2 separate regions of the Homo sapiens genome follow, and region 2 is linked to region 1. The links are contacts of gene promoters, found by promoter capture Hi-C in blood cells and fetal thymus (Javierre and others, 2016). All regions are on one chromosome and are shown on one strand. The core of a region is centred on a gene start or on the middle of the fragment in contact, and the rest is flanking DNA. Distances in the headings are between cores, read along the strand shown. Region 1 holds the start of GYG1 (glycogenin 1). Region 2 holds the start of TSC22D2 (TSC22 domain family member 2).

Evidence for each region. The method cuts DNA at HindIII sites, captures the fragments that hold promoters and counts their contacts. A CHiCAGO score of 5 or more calls a contact.
Region 2: a contact is called between a fragment that was not itself captured here and the fragment with the promoter of GYG1 in region 1, in 1 of 17 cell types (naive CD8 T cells). The highest score is 6.1, in naive CD8 T cells.

What each region holds. Positions count from the first base shown.
Region 1 is chr3:148,988,063-148,993,144 of GRCh38, reverse strand. It overlaps GYG1 (glycogenin 1), which reads right to left and starts at 1,605. Exons shown (of 8, transcript NM_004130.4): 1 at 1,498-1,605. The coding sequence starts at 1,504. RefSeq lists silencers at 589-883, 917-1,966. The HindIII fragment of the contact is 9,660 bases long and covers 1-3,653 here.
Region 2 is chr3:150,405,144-150,410,327 of GRCh38, reverse strand. It overlaps TSC22D2 (TSC22 domain family member 2), which reads right to left and starts at 2,030. Exons shown (of 3, transcript NM_001303264.2): 1 at 1-2,030. The coding sequence starts at 977. RefSeq lists enhancers at 1-213, 920-969 and silencers at 1-239, 500-669, 1,340-1,939. The HindIII fragment of the contact is 923 bases long and covers 2,666-3,588 here.

The DNA.
Region 1 (5,082 bases), core at 356-2,855:
CATCTCCAAGAAACATTAGCAAGTTGGTGGGCATCCAAATGCATAGGACACTTCGGATCAAGTTCTGGTAGGAGTCAGTTGCTTAACCAGCGAGTTGGGACATTTTGTCATGAAGTCCTTCTCTTTCTGACCTGGCTTTCCCTCATTCTCCCTTGCCCGTTTTCCAAGGTGGAGGCTGGAAGCAGTAGAAATTCCACCGAGACATGAGAGGAAGTTGTGGGTTGCCTAGTGGGCCAGCGCATCCCTCGGCTGCTGACCTGAGAGCCATCTTCACACATTTTATTAGGCCCTCTCCCACGGCAGGCCAACTACTAAGTTGTAGGAAGACCAGTTCCCCACCCCCGAAGGGCCACCAGCTTCCCAGTCACTCACACTCTAGGAAAGCTCTGAACAGTGGCACCTGTCCCTTGACAGGCCCATCAACATCCGCCTGTACTTGCTTCTATTATCTTCAGCCCATTATAACATGGGTAACATCGCTGTCAATCTGTACCAAAAATACTTAAGCTAGGCAAAATGAATGATCATCTAACTCAAATGAAGTCCAGGTTCCAGGCGATCATGGAGAAAAATGTAATAAGGTGAGCAGGATTCAAGGATTTCTGGAAGCAAGGATATGGATGATTTCCAAGATTAAATAAGGGATAGAACACAGGTTAGAACACCAGACTAGCCAACATTACAAATGACCAAGAAAGACCAATGACAGCTGGGTAGGAGTTTAATCTTCCTAAAGACGGCTGAACTCTGGGTTACACCTGCAATCTTTGTGGCAGTTCAACTGCTGTAATAACCCTGGCTATTAGCCTCAATGACACGGAAGGACCAGCTAACTCGGAGCTTCCCAGTGCTGGGGCTAACTCGTGGAGTGGCCCGGACGCCTCGCAACAAGTGAAGCCAAAGCCGGCGCCCTCCCACCAGACGGGGCTCGCGCCCGGGGACGCTAGTCCGACTCCCGGCTTCCCGCAACCCGGCCCCAAAGGCCTAAAAATAGGCTCAGCGTGGCGGCCGGGGCCGGGGCGGGCGGCGGAGGAGCCGGGCGGAGGCCGCAGTATCCCCGCCTCGGAGCCCCTGCTTCCTGGGGTTCCGGGCCGCCAGAGGCCGGGGCAGCTCCCCACGATGCCGCTGCGCCCCGGACTCCCGCCTGGAACCCCCAGGGGAACCGGCTCCCCACCCCCACACGGCCCCGCCGCAGCTGCTCCGCCCGCCGGCCCTTCGCCGTGAGAGCAAGAGGAAGGACGAGGAGACGGAAGCAGGAACGAGAGCTCCGGCCGAGGGCCCGGGCTCTGCCCGGCTGCCCCATCCCTGCACTCTGGGGGGCGGCGGGGCGGCAGCTGACGCAGGCAGAAACACGCCCGGCTGCGGCCAGCCAGCAACTTTGCGGCGGTTTCGTCCTGCCGGGAACACTCCGGGGCTGAGGGCGGAGGAGAAGGGAGGCGGCGGCTGGGCAGGAAGCCGGGGTCCCGGGGCTGGCGGCGGCGGGCTGCGCGGCGGTACCTGTCATGGTGCTGCCGGGTGCGCAGGCGGCCGGGGCAGCCTCAGGTTGGTGACTCAGAGAAGCCGGCACCGGGAGGGAGCGCGGCCAGCGAGGAGGCACGGCGGGGAACCGAGCGTCTGCCCCGTGCGCTCTTATAGCGGCCGTCACGTGGCCGCGCACGCTCTCGCTGCCGTCCGCATCCTCCCAGCTGCGCGGCCGGCAGGGGCGGTGGCCCGCGGGGCTCCGGGTCCCGCGTCTCCCTCGGCTCCTCCTCCCTCCCTCGGGGCTAGGCTGCCGCTGCGGCTGCGGCTCACCGGCGCCCCTGCTCCTACTTCCCCGGGGCGCCTGCCCTTGTCAACCGCGCGCCCCCTGTCGCCGCTAAACCTGGGAGTTAAGGGGGACTTTGGGGCTGAGTGCGGCATCAAACTCCCCAAGAAGCCAAGGGTTAGGGAACCTTAAAAAACAAGCAAACAAACCCCAGATTACTCTAGTTAAAATCGTGAGTCTGAACTGCTTGAATGAAACGTAAAATTTACGCTTTTTTTGCAGAATTTCGATCAGCCTCTATAATCATTCCTTAGTGTACTCACAATGGTTTTGTACCCTTAACCTAAAAAATATAGTGAATATTTCGTAAATGTTAAATTCTTGGAGCCATCTGCATCAATTAGGCATTTAAGTGCTTCATTTAATCCTTGTACGAACTCAGTGAGGTGTTACATATTCATTTTACAGACGAGGAGGAAACTGAGCTCAGAAAAGTTAAATTAACTTTTCTTTTCTTTTTTTTCTTGTATTTTTAGTAGAGACAGAGTTTCACCATGTTGGCCAGCCTGGTCTGGAACTCCTGGCCTCAAGTGATCTGCCAGCCTTAGCCTCCCAAAGTGCTAACTTTTCTATAGTCATATAATATAAATGGAGAAAGTAGGATTTAAACCCTGGCAGTTTGGTTACAGAATCAACCTTCCCACCCAGAAAGTCTTGGTGCCTCTTGTACACAGGGGCTCCAAAAAGGTTAGTAAATTATTGTAACTGTGGTTAGCCAATGCTAACCTGTTTCACAAATCTTGAAATGGTCAATTTGTCATTTTTCTAGGAAGTTGAGAAATAGCTTTAATGTGATCACATCCTTCTCTGCTCCCCATCCCCAGTCCAAACACAGAACAAGCCTCGGGTAGTTCAGTTCTCTGCAAACTGAAAACTGAAATTGCTCGGTAAATGTTGAATGAGTACTGCAAAGCCATTTGGAAACCAATCAGGAAGTTGACATCAGTTCAAAAAGCAAAACAGATGCTTAAGAATAAGTGATTTATTTGCAAAGGTGGTACTGCTGTCCTCAAACCAGTTATATCACTGTTTCCTCGTGTGTGGGTGTGGATCTCCTACATCAGAATCACTTGGGGGCACTGGTTAAAGCGTAGATTTTTGGGCCTAAGCCCAGACCTCCTGAATCAGAATCTTAAGGGTAGGTTTATTTTGGTGCAAAATAATTTTGAAATCCATGCATTTTTTTTTTATAATATGTATATTCTATGGACTTTTTGAAGTCGCGTCATATACTCTTGAGGTAATGAAATACTCTGTAGGCATAATCATTATATATTTTTAATATAAAAAGCTGTTCAAAATATATTATTTGAAGAAAAACAGGTTACAAAACAAAAAGAATCTTAAGGGTAGAACCTTAAAATCAGTATTTTAAATATCACCTTCCAGGAGCCTCTCTTGAGTCCTTCCTAGTCTTGACCATGGCCTAGAGACCGCTGATCACATGGGAGGCCCTCCCAGTTACTTGGCATTATGTGCTTCCGTTGTAGGAAACAGAAAAGTGGAAAGGGCAATAGATGGGTTTCCACTTATTCAAAAGATATAGACATAGAAGAGTTGGAGCTCTTTAAGGAACACAAAGGCTACACTTTTGTATCTTAAGTGGGGAGAGGGAAAACAAAGAGAGGTACTTCTCAGTCTGATTGCTCTTTTGCAGACTGAGAGGTGAACTTGGAAGAGTGAGATTTCCATCTTTCACCCAGAACCCTCCTGCCATCAGCTGACCCTTAACCATCTACTTCTTGCAGCCTACTATCTCAGGCTGGACTTAGCCAGGGATGTGGTGATGGGGCTGAAAGGGCAAAGCCAGGAGGTAGAACTGGGGACAACTGGGAAAAACAGAAAAGCTTCCCTTAGAACAAGCTCCTCTCTGCTGCAACTCCCAGGACGTTTAAGTAAAAGGAACGGTTACCACAGCTTCCCTTCCTGAGCTTCATGTATATTTACACAAATAGAAAGTTTACAGCTTTTACCACTTTGAATCAAATAGGGACATTTTGAGGTTGCTACAATCTGTTCTTCTTCATTGTCTTAATATAGATCATAATGACCCCACTGCCTACTTTTCCTGAGGCTGCCCTGCAGTGAGCTTCAGTCTGGTGTGAGAGCAAGACCTCTCAAACTTTAATGCGCACACAGATTGCCCAAGGATCTTATTAAAATGCGGATTCTGACTCAGTAGTTTGGGGGTGGGTCTCCCAGGTGATCCCCAGGCTATGGACCCACACTTTGAATAGTGAGGTGTTCAAACATTTTGGATTGTAAGGCCTTAGAGGTAGTGGATAAACATGGTATAGTGAGGCAAATGTTTCAGATTTTAGCTTGTTATTTTTTTTCTTGTGAAACTTGAACTAGTAAAATTACAGAATCCTAAAAGAAAGATTTAAGTTAAAAAAGATAAGTTATACCCTACATCAGTAGGCATGACTATTAACCATTTAAACCTATGCTGAATTCATATATTCGGAATGGTCCAAAATTCATTTTAAATTGGCTTTGTAATGCATTATGTAATTTTTTTGGCAGGATACTTACCTTCCTAATTAAGTTTTGTTTAAGATAATGCTGAAATCAGTTTGCATTCTTTTGAGCACACACACTAATTGATGGTGGGGGCAACTGACCTGGAAATATATTCCGGAGCAGAGGGCAACCTACTCGCCTGAGAATCAAATGGTTCCCACGGAAAGTTTGTGAAATACATATACCACATCTGGCCAGACACAGGAACTAACTAGTCAACTAACTTAAAATTTTGCCCTTAATTGATAACATACACAATCTGTACCTGGGATTGTTGTCGGTAATCACAATATCAAGCAAAAGTTTGGTTTCAAGAAATAATATCCTTGGAGGCCCAAAGTAGTCCGTTCTTCACTTGAAAGCTAGAGTCCCAAACTCCAAAAGTTGCAGTAGCCTGATGGCTGGTTACATAGCTTTTTTTTTTAATCCTTATTGTTACATAACTCACATTGTGTAAAATTCAGCCACTTGTGCTGAATTAAAGTGTATACCTAAATGGTTTTTAGTGTATTCACAGAGTTGTACAACTATTACCACAATCTAAGTTTAGAACAATTTCATCAACCCAAAAGAAATCTGTACCCATTAGCAGTCACTCCTTACTCTCTTCTTCTTTCCCTCAGTCCTGGGCAACTACTAATCTACTTTCTGTCTAAACATTTGTCTATTGAGATTTACCTATATGTTGTCTTGTGTAACTGGTTTCTTTCATTTAGCATAATGTTTTCAAAGTTCTTCCATGTTGTGAAACGTAT
Region 2 (5,184 bases), core at 1,878-4,377, 1.4 Mb before region 1:
GGCGGCAGAGTCTGTCCCCCGGGCCCCGCTCCCTGGGGCTGGCTGGGCTGCGCGGCTGCCATCATTGGCTGCGGCCCGGTCGCGGCTCCCGGGAACGGCGGCAGCGGAGCCGAGCTTTGAGCCACAGCCCCACCTACGGGTGGCGGCGGCGGCTGTGGCTGCCCAACGCTAAAACTCTGCGGCTGGGCCGGAGTGGGCTGGCTCATTTTCTCCGACGGGGGTAGCTGTGACACAGCAGTCAAGGAGCTGTCAGTTCCCGACTCGGGCCCGTGCGCCCCCTGCATGGAGGCCACTACTACCACCACCGACCCTCCGGTGGCGCCCAGGCCGCTGTCCCGCTCCGCAGTCTGGTCAAAAGTACTGCTGTGTCTAATGCAATCCCCGGATCTAGTCAGGACGCTGCTGTCTGAATCCCTCTCATAGTATTCCATACACGTCCATCGGCCGCGTCTATAGGGCTCTCCGCTCCCGTGGTCCAGCTTGATCACGCGAAAACGGGAACTACATGTGGTGGGAGGCTGAGATGGGGCTGCAGTCACTGGCCCGGCGGATGAGCCCGCGAGCTGGGGGCCGCCGGGTGCTCCGGGGGCGGGGGCCGAAGTGGCAGCCGCCGCCAGGGTACTGGCGAGCGCCCCAGACACGCTCCGGGCCGAAACGACTCCTCCTCCGTTGGCGGGAGCAGCAGCCGCCGCTGCCAGCTGCCCATCTAGGAGGAGGTTTGGGGAGACGGTCCCGGGAGTCTCCGCATCCCCAACATTGTTAAGCGTCTCTTCGGAAGAGCTGCGCTCGCAGACCTCCTCAGGGCCATAATCCGTGGCCCGAGAGACGTCGAAAATCTCGGAGGAGACGTCCTCTGTGCGTGACTCGTCCGGGTCGTCCAAGCTCTCGGTGTCCTCGGTGATGCTAGTGGCCACCTGGGCCGTGGTGACACTGGTGATCTGGAAGCAGCTCTTCTTCTTGGCCGGCATCTTGGACATGGTGAAGAAGGCTGGAGGGCAGAGAGGCACGCCGGCTCCTCTGGGTCCTGTCGGAAACCGGGGAGGGCAGAGCACGGGCCCCCAAAGACAAAGTCCGAGTCTGCGCTGGGGTCTGAGGCCCGCCGCTGTTAAGAGTCACGGGCTGATCCAGGCGCTGGCCGCCCGGTGAGACATCCTCCTCCTCGTTTCCTTCTCTGTGTCGGTCTCTTCGGCTCTGCCCCCGTCTCAGTCCCGCGGCGGCTCCTCCTTCCTTTTTAGCTCTCGCAGCCGCGGCGCCTCAATTCAATTCCCTCAGAGGCGGCGAGAGCGCGAACCCAGGGGCGGGCCGGCTGCTTCCTCTCTCGTCTCCGGGCAGCCGTGGTCAGTCCAGCTCGGCGCTCGGCGCGGTCAGCAGGCCTTGGCTGGGGGTGGGAGTGGGAGGGCGAAGAGGAGGAGGAGGAGGCGGTGGCGGCGGCGTGAGGGGCGGTGCTGCCCCGCTCGGGCTCCTCAGGCCGGTGCCGGCGTCAGCGCTGGGCTCTCTGACTGAGGGAAGGAGCGGCGAGTCCGGAGTCGGAGATGCCTAATTCAGCCGGGAGCCGCGGGCCGGAGCTGGCTGAAGGTCCGCGGGCGGGCGGTGGGGCTGTGGCGCGGGCAGGCGGCCCTCCCTCCCCGGCTCTAGCCGGAGCTCAGCCCCAGGGACATGTCGACTGCCTCAGGCGGAAACCCGCTCTGGGGGAGGGGAAAGCCGGCTCGGTCCTCCCCTTACAGGGGGAACCACCCCTGCGGGCGGGCGGCGACGGCGGTCTCGGCCTCCCCTCGCGGCTTCTCTCAGAGAGGGGCGGCGGCGGCAGACCGCTGGCACGGGACCGGAGGCGCCCCGGCTGTGTGAGGTAGCGGTGGTGGCTTCTCCGGCTCCTCCTCGGTGCGCCCAATTCCTAAACCCCGAAGAAACTGAAATTCAAACTGCTGAAGCGGCGGCTGCAGCTCCCTCCGCTGGGCCAAGATGGGGCTGAAATGGCCGCGCCAGGGATGCTGGGAGGAGCAGCAGCCCCGCTGCCGCCGCCGCTGCCGACTAAAATGCCGCCGCTGCCGCAGCCACCGCCAGCGCCGCAGCCGCCGCCGTTCCGTGACGCACCGGCGTCGTGACGTCACCGCTCCGCCCCCTCCGGTTTCCTGCAGTTTCGCGTGGAACCTGGGGTGGGGGGCAATGGGCGGGGCTAAAGGTTAAAAAAGGGAGCGGTTTCTTTATTTAAAATTTTTAAAATTTAAATTTTGTGTTGTAGGTTCTTTAAGCATTGACGAGCTAAAGACCATTTTAAATTCTAAGCCTAGGGAAGCTTACAATGGAACTAATCAGATGTTTTTATGTCGGTTTGTTCCGAGACAGTGGAAGACTGGAGGTCATGTGCTTGTGTCTAATGTTTAGCAAAATCTTAGTGAAACGAGGGCGATAGGAATGGGGGCTGGGGAAGACTTAGATGGGATAAAAAGAGGTGCGGCTGGAAGAACTAAATCACTTTAAAACTTCTGAAAATAAATGTTGACCATTGTAGTCAGAGGAGTAAAATGTTCAGAGAAATGGGGATGATTAAACAAGAACGGCAAGCCAGATTGAGTCAGAAAATTATCTTCCTGCCAGAAATTCTGTCTCCCACAACGGCATCAGGGGGTGGTTACTTGCCCAGGGTGTAGTCAGTTTTTAAAAAGCTTAAGGGTTACCAACATATTCCTAAATTTCCTGAATTTGCTGTGATTCCAGGATTCATTTAAACTCTTGAGACTGTTTTACTTTCGGCACGAAATCAGCTCATGGGCTTTATAAATGTAGAACCTACTGCATTATAGTTCTTCTTTTTGTTTATTCTAAAACTGTTAGTAGCAGCCAGCGTATTATATGATTTGGATTGGGCCATGAACAACCGTAACGAGTGATAAAGCACCCTTTCCTGTTCCAATGCAAAGAACAACTATGAAAAGAAAGTACTGGCAAATTTATCATCTTGTAGTTAGTTCCTGGCCAAAGAAAATGGTAAGGCCATTCTTTTAAGCAGTTAAAAAAAAATGGGGATGGGCTCTTAAACTTTGGCATGCTAAGGCCATTCTTTTAAGCAGTTTAAAAAAATGGGGATGGGCTCCTAAACTTTGACATACTAAAGCAGTCGTCATTTAGGTAAAATCTAAGTCTTAATGGAAATCGTGATTTCATATCTACTGCAGCGTTAGCAATCACATAATGATAACTTAAATCAGTAAATCGTTGAACTCGGTTCTCTAATCTTTGAAGAATAGAAATACTTTTTATCCCAAAAGATGTTTTGAGAATTAAATTTGCAGAGAATTTTTTAGGTCTTTAGTTGTAATTTATAGAGCTAGGTCTTTTAACTTTAGTGGAAACCATGCCCTCCAAACCCAAGTGACTGGAGTCAGAATGTGAAATAAGACGACATAAAATCCCTATTTCTTAAGGGGCTGGGCGAAAGTAATGGAACAAAATGTAACGTTATGCTATTGTGGCAGAGATAGCTAATGGAATGTTTCATTTCTAAGTCTGTAATTTCAGTAATTGTTAGAGGCAGTTTTCCATCAATAAGTTAGATCAAATGGTTAAACCCAATATGAATTTATAAAAGCTTAATTTAATTTTGGATTGATTTACCAGATGTTTAAGGTGGTTATAATGGGTAGTGTTGATGGTGGTGCTTTTGGAAAAATGAGTATTATATGCCTGCTCATCCCTTTACATTATCTTATCATATAAACTTCTTGATTACTCGTTATGATACTCTTAAATCGTACATTTAGAGGAAAAATCTTAAAGTAATCTGTAAGACCATTTCTCCTTAAAATGATATATTATGAGATGAAAGGAAAGATAAAGATAATTTAGAAGAGATCCAGAAGTGGACTAAATTTCTGGTAAGGAGGGGGCTAAAGATGTTAAAAGACATCTTAGGAAAAGCATATGATTTATAACTTTTAAAAGTGTCATTTAGATGGTTAAGGATTTGTGTTTAATAGTTCTCTTGAAAATATTGTTTTCCAAAAGTTTAAAAGCCCTAGCTACTTTTATACATTTGCCCTTAAAAAATGTACAGAATTTATTACATCAAACTGCTACAAAGAAATAAGAATTCTGATTTTTGCAAGTAAGTTGGAAATCAACGTAGAGGACAAAAAGTGGCATAGCTATATCTAAACAAAAAAGTATGTAATTCAAAAGTTGGTCCACAAAGAATTGAAAGCCTTTCAATAACTAATTTAAATGATAGAAAGCAGTATGTATATGCAAGTACATATGCTCCCTGTATAGAGAGTGGTTAGTAAGTAAGATGGTAGCCTAACTCACTGGAATAAAGAGATCCTTGGAGTCCCAAACCTCAAGACTAGGAGTCTTAATGCAGTTACCAGGCTGCATGCCTGTACCCAGAGACCATACTAGAGGCTGTGGGAATCCTCGATTACTGCTCTTAGAGCCCCCAACTTGACTGTTTCTTCTGTACCTGGTACTTTTTTCAAATATTTCAAATTGCAGTGATGCATGGGAGATACATTTAGAAAACATAATGCAGGGGAATAAAAGCAGTTAAAAACTAAGGACAGTTTCTACTGATGAAAATAAAAAACTGCTACAGCAACATCTTTTCATCATCTGTAAACATCATACCCCCAAATTTTCCTAAGTTATTATCTAACCTCATCAGTAGCAGATGGTGAATTATTTCATAGAAAATCCTGGAATGTAAACTCTAGATACTCAAGAAAACCTCTTTTTTTTCAATGAAGGTATATTATATTTAAAATAATAATGATGCATTAAACATTATGGGATAAAGAAAATACTTTCCATAGAAATTAAGCAATGGCCTAGGCAAAGAGAAGTAACCCTTTAGCATTAATACTATCAGTTAGACAGTGACATTTATTGAACATTCCCTGTGTTGTGTATTAAGAATTGGACTACCTATATCCCAGTCAACAATTTTTTCTGGAGTTTAGAAATAGTTTATGCTTATTTTCTGTGTTTTTTATTACCAAATTGTTATTAGTTTGGTGCAAAAGTAATTGTGGTTTTTGTCACTTACATGATGGCAAAAACTGCAATTACTTTTGCACCAACCTAATAGAAAAATACAAAATGGAGAATAGTTTTCAGGTTCCACAAAGCATTTGCTGGAAATAAATATCAGTTGTCTAAATAAGTAGTACTTGATTTATTACTATGATTTTC